Linked DNA regions of Homo sapiens: region 2 is linked to region 1. Evidence: promoter capture Hi-C in 16 types of primary human blood cells and fetal thymus (Javierre and others, 2016). All regions are on one chromosome and are shown on one strand. Each heading gives the region's core, a stretch centred on a gene start or on the middle of the fragment in contact. The rest is flanking DNA. Distances are from core to core; before and after follow the strand shown. Region 1 holds the start of GARIN6 (golgi associated RAB2 interactor family member 6). Region 2 overlaps ANKS1B (ankyrin repeat and sterile alpha motif domain containing 1B).

What was found. Contacts are between HindIII fragments. The CHiCAGO score rates a contact against its expected background, and 5 or more counts as called.
Region 2: a contact is called between a fragment that was not itself captured here and the fragment with the promoter of GARIN6 in region 1, in 1 of 17 cell types (M1 macrophages). The highest score is 6.5, in M1 macrophages.

The regions. Positions count from the first base shown.
Region 1 is chr12:99,646,078-99,649,206 of GRCh38, forward strand. It overlaps GARIN6 (golgi associated RAB2 interactor family member 6), which reads left to right and starts at 1,676. Exons shown (of 2, transcript NM_153364.4): 1 at 1,676-2,712. The coding sequence starts at 2,098. The region is part of intron 9 of ANKS1B (ankyrin repeat and sterile alpha motif domain containing 1B); the gene reads right to left. The HindIII fragment of the contact is 12,136 bases long and covers 1-2,518 here.
Region 2 is chr12:99,059,424-99,062,552 of GRCh38, forward strand. All of the region lies in intron 16 of ANKS1B (ankyrin repeat and sterile alpha motif domain containing 1B), which reads right to left. Among named protein-coding and RNA genes, the nearest start is that of APAF1, 420 kb to the left of the region's middle. The HindIII fragment of the contact is 1,679 bases long and covers 740-2,418 here.

The DNA of each region.
Region 1 (3,129 bases), core at 426-2,925:
CCAATCCTGTTATCCCTTATGAAAAACATCAGAACCACTTGGACACTTTTAAAACGTTATTTTACTAAATGTGTATTTGGTTTCTTGGTTTTGCCAATTACAAGATAAGTAACATAGACTTGAAGTGGAAGTTAAGATATAAAGACTTTAGGAAGGGCAGTAAAAAGTGCTATTGATATGTGAATAGGCATCTCAATAAATAAAATAAAAATACTCCAAGTATCCAAAATAATCAAACATTTCAATATGAAAGGAAGAAATTATGTTTGCATTGACTTATGCAACTAAAGACTCAAGTGGGCTGGGCACGGTGGCTCACACCTGTAATCCCAGCACTTGGGGGGCCAAGGCGGGCGAATCACGAGGTCAGGAGTTCGAGACCAGCCTGAGCAATATGGTGAAACCCCATCTCTACTAAAAATACAAATTAGCCGGGCGTGGTGGCACACGCCTGTAGTCCCAGCTACTAGGAAAGCTGATGCAGGAGAATCACTTGAACCCAGGAGGCGGAGGTTGCAGTGAGCCAAGATCACGCCACTGATTCCAGCCCGGGTGACAGAGTGAGACTCCATCTCAAAAAAAAAAAAAAAAAAAAAAAAAAAGACTCAACTATGGCTATGGCTCTGTGTGTGTGTGTGTGTTTGTGTTCACATGGGTTATCATGTGTACTGTCATTTCAATAAAGATATTATAATCTTATTGAATTGAAAATATTTGCAATACCTAGCAAAATTCTTTACAGCTTTTTTTTTTCTCAATACAATCTGATGGTAAAGAATAGAGCATAAATGTGATGTTTAAGGCTCTTTTCATTCCATAGCCAGGGTATGAATGTCTAGGTAAAACTCAAAAATTGCATCAACAGTTTGAGGGTGAGTCAAAACATAAAATTTATCATGGCTATAGAAACAGAAAAAAAAAAATACATTGCCAATAAAATAGTTATTTCCCCTGGTAACAGAAATAAATTTCCTAATAAAAATAGAAGTTAAAAAGAAAATGAAAATTATACCTAAGCACTTTAAACATTTCACTGAACATAATTCCATATCCACAAACACATACACGTGGTCTTACATAAATTGAATCTCACCTATACTATGAGTTTGAAATCAGTTTTTCTCTTATTCTTTAAGAAAAAAAAAGGTCAGGGATATCTTTTCATGTCAATAAATAGGAAAACTACGTAATCATTTTTAGGGCTGCAGACTGTCCCGTCACAGAAGCTCCATAATTTATTTAAGCAATCCCCTATTGTAAGACACTAATGCTGTTTATAATTTTTTACTCTACAACAAACATTGATAAACATCCTGTACCAATCTGTTTACCAATTTATCCAATTCTCTCTTTAAAATAAATGTCTACAACTAGAGGAGCTGGATAAATGAGTATACAGAGAATGTATATTAAACTCTTGCCTTGCACAGAAAATTTACCTCTAACCCTTTTGAAAGCAATTTGCCAGAATGCATTAAGGTCCCTAGATGGTAGGTTGGTGGCGGGGTAGTGGTCTGCTGAGCTGTGGAGGGCGGTGGGGCTGAGGGTGGGGTGGAGAGGGCGGTGCCCCTGCTCTGAGGCAGGGACTACTGGGTGACAGAGACAAAGGGGTGTGTGATGGGGCAGGTCACAATGGGTAGGGGAGGATAAAAGTGGTCCTGCGGGGTGGTTTAGCAGCAGTGGATGGTTCAGGTTGGGAAGAAGAGCAGTGGGATTGCCAGTTAAGGTTGTGGAATCAAAGAGCAAAGGCTGTTGTGAAGTGGAATATCAGGCTCAAATGGAGGTCCCTCCCGAATGAGCACTGACACCTGTGTGCCCGGACATCCACGAGGGCCCCAACACCTGTGCTCCTGACAGCTCCATGCACTAAGCAGGGCACAGTCTGGATCCAGGGGACTGACTGTCTCTGGCATTGAGCGGTTGGTAATCAATACCCCACCCTCCCTGTTCTCAGTCACTTGGGGACAAAAAAGAAAGCCTGCAGAACACGACTGCTGGCCCACCTGCCAGAGTAGCCAAGGAAACAGGATGCCCGCTAAAGCATGTTAAGGAAGGTGTGGAGCAGCTGCTGGGAACTGTCTTGATTTAAAGGAAGACATGGAGGACTGCTGTATGCTACCGTATTACACGGCCCAAAGCAGCCCCGCAATGGGCATGTTTAACACCTCCATGGGGAAGCTGCAGCGGCAACTGTACAAAGGCGAGTATACTATATTCAGGTATGCACCCATGTTTGAGAGCGACTTTATCCAGATCAGCAAAAGAGGAGAAGTGATTGACGTGCACAACCGTGCCCGAATGGTAACAATGGGCATCGTTCGCACCAGCCCCTGCCTCACACTACCTGATGTCATGCTGCTGGCCCGACCAGCTGCTGTCTGTGACAATGCCAGGTGTGGTCCTGCCACCCAGAAAAGAGAAAGTCCGCCTGCAGAGATCTTAGAACTAACCAGGCTGCTTCCCTTGATGTTTGTGAAAATAACCATCCACAACAGCGTAAAAAAACAGCTCCACCTGAAGCTTGCCACGGGCCGCTCTTTTTATCTTCAGCTGTGTCCTCCATCGGATGCAAGTGAAGACCTTTTTGTTCACTGGGAAAACCTTGTTTACATCCTGAGACCACCAGTGGAGGCTTACAGTGATACCAGGGCTATCCTAGCTGGGAACACATTGGACTCATCTGTGTTGGAGGAAGTGCAGAGGAGCCCAGTGGTGAGTCTATGCAGAGACTAGATGGGGCCTGGATGCTTTGGGGGAGAGCAGGTACAGGTCCTGTAAAGCCTTTGGTGCTGCAGCTCACCTGGGAAATGCATTGCATTTGGAAGGTCTGAAGGCCAAATGAGCTTCCATTTGGAGGCCATGGTACATTGAGGAGGTTCCTAGTGCTTCTCCAGGGTTCTCCAAGCCTGAATTTCAGAGATTTCTTAGCTGTCAGCAACTCTTCATTTTATATCCACAGCTGTTCATTTTATATCAATGTTGTAATGCTGTCCAAAGCATCCTGACCAGTCTATTCTGAAACACATACTATGACCTAGGCAGGCTGATATGTTGTAGGACGTGTCTCCCTGCAATTGCCACTTATATACATTGGTGGCAACACAACATGTTTGTGTACTTGTGCAATAA
Region 2 (3,129 bases), core at 329-2,828, 590 kb before region 1:
GTACTCCATGTTATGAAAACTAAGGTTATCTTTTTCTGCCTAACAATAACATTCATAACTATTTAAAACCTCCATATATCAAGAACCAGTTCCAGATAGGATATTGTGTTACAGAATGCAATGGACTTTGTTTCCATAGCACAGAAGACTTGATTCTATTAGCCATGTAGCCATGGGCAAGTCACTTCATCTCTCTAAGCTTCAGTGGTGTCAGCTATAAAATGAAGGTATTGGACCAAGGATCTCAAAGCTGCTTTGTAATTCCTAAATTTTGCAATTCCATGACTCGTAAATTAATTTTAAATTAGTAACCTATTTGTTTACCCAGGAAAGAAAAAATAAGCCCAAAGACAAAACTAAAATTCATATATATATATATATATGATAGGACGTGTAGACTAAAGGTCAGATGGCATTCACATTTCTTTCATGTATCTTCAGCAGTACCCACAGGGAGCACTGTGACTGCATTCTCAAATTAGCAATGATGAAACTTTTTTTCCAGCGGGAACATCTGGCAAGACAGGGCTAGGAAGTGACAGCTCCATCGGCCTGCCAGGCCAGCAGTGCTGCTAAGCATGAACGGAAGTCAGGCTCACTCTATAATCTGAGAGGCAGAGTGGTGAGCAGGCAGCAGGCATTCATTACAGAGGCTCGCAACAAGGCAATTTGATTCAATTAGTTGAATTCCAAAGTCTGGAAAAACCTAAGCTGAGACAGAAATTCGAGATAGCAGTGAAGCTTTAGTCTTGGGAAAATTGAGATATATTAACATATTTTTTTTTTGCCAAATGCCTTCCTTGTTCTTGTTCCACCCAAATGACTTTCCTCCAGGAGTTTTTTAGAGCATACTTGGCCTCAGAGAGAGTATGCTGTTAACATCACAGGTGGTACAGCAGGCAGAGAAACCACAGGACAGTACTCTGTGGAGTTCTGGGTTTGAGGGGGTCAGCTACGGGGCAGCTGAACAACCCATGCTCTGAGACTGCTTGATCGACTTCAACCAGAGTAACTCTTATTTTATGCGTTTTATACAAGTAAGAGGAAGAAAGGTTTTCTCGGCTTTAAAAAGAAATGTTTGAAAACCACGAATCTAGAAGACTTTTGTAAGATTACATGACCACTATGATTTTATTTTCTCTTAACTTTTTAGCTTTATTTGAAATATTATGGATCTGTTATATATATGTGGTTATATATATATATACACACATATACATATATACACATCACACACACACACACACACACACACACACACACACACACACACACACATATATATAGAGAGAGAGAGCCTGTCATTCCATCATTCTTTCTCTTTGCCTGAAGCCAGCATTTTCTGTGCAGATAAGGATAATATCTTATGAGATGACGGAGCCACAGGATGGAAGGTATAGCAGGAGGAAGGCAATAAAAACAGGTAAAAAAAATAAAAAGAGAGAGAAAGGTGATATACATTATAATAGCTTTGGGATTAAATGAGAAAAGTAGTTCTTGATGGGACAACTTATTAACCTAGAATTATGATATTGGCATGGTATTTAGAACAAGAGGATAAGGAACCCTGAAAAGCCAATAATGGATTAGACAGGCATTTTTATGTCCAAAAGTGTTAGAAAATTGAGAAAAAGACTACTTGTTGTTCCCTTAAACTTGTCCTCTCTTCTTCCACATAATGGGGTTAAATTGGGTTCATGCCTGCCGGACTAGAGACAAGATACATCAGCTTTTTTTCTGGTTGCTGCTGTGAAAATATGGTTGAGCCTGTGGAATGCTAATGAAAGTGTTGCATGTAACTTTCAGGTCACCTCTAGCTAAAAGAAGTTCCTCGACCTAGAATTCCTCTTTTTTCTTCATCTTCCTATAAGCTGGAACATCAGTGACTGCAGTTCAGCTTTGACTACACAGGCAAAACAATACCCTGGAGTCTGGGAAATGCTTCTCAGACCTCAACGTGCTTAGGAATCATGCAGAGAATCTTATTAGCAGACGATTCTAATTCCGTTATTTGGAGGGAGGATTGGAGATTCTGCATTTCTAACCAGCTTCCTGGTGATGCTAATGCTGTCAGCCCATGAACCACACTTTGAGTAGTAGTGCTTTGGAGGATGACAGAACAACAAATAGAAGGTCCTCGGTCCTTCCACAATTGCATAGAGCAAAGCCACCTTGTAAACCTGCACTGCTCATTTCAAGACTATTATATGAGAGAAATTAATATTCGATTCTTTAAACCACTATATTATGAATGTCTCTATTTCAGTATCATAGCCTTTCCTTGAATACAAACATAACTAAAAATAAGGCAGTTTCATGTAGAACATTTAAATGAAGCCTGTACTTCCATTTGACATTACATTGTATTATCTCTTGTTTTGTGGGGCCGTAAGTTTTCACATCTGTTATCGTTAAAGAAGCTTCATTTCCTTTAACTGTGTTTGTTGGCATTTCTCTGTCAATCACAGCATCATCCCTTTGTAACAACTATGCAAGGGATAAGAGGAGAAAAATGCAGGGAAACCCCAAGTTTCTAGCTTGGATATCTGGGCAAATGGTGGTGTTACCAGGTAAAAGAGAAAAGAAAATAGACTGGGATGACATGAATAATTTTGAGACATGAGAAATTTAAGATGCTATGCTGTGGAATGGCACTTTAAATTTGGAGAAGTCTGGGGAGACACGCGGCCTTGGGCATCATCAAAGTACAGGTAAGAGTGTTGGCAACTCCACTTATTAGCTATCTGACCTCGAGCAAATCACTCATACTTCCTAAGCATCCATTTTCTGATTAGTAATGTGAAAGATTAAAAGAATATCTATCGCTGAGCGTTGCCATATGTATTCAATGAAACTACACAAGGAGAATTTAGCACAATACTTGGCACACAGAAGCACTCAATAAATCTTTGTTATTTTTTTTCTGACAGCTGAAATCATGCACAGGTAGGACTGCAGAGGTGACTTTGTAGTGTGAGAAGAGAAGTGGCCTGAGAATGAACCAACACTTTCAATGCATAAGGAACAGATAAAAATAATACTCAGGAGACCAAAGAAGGAATGGTCAGGACAAGAAAAGAAATGGGGGAAATAAGAGTGTCAAGGAGAGTGTGGTCAGCAGTGAGGGGA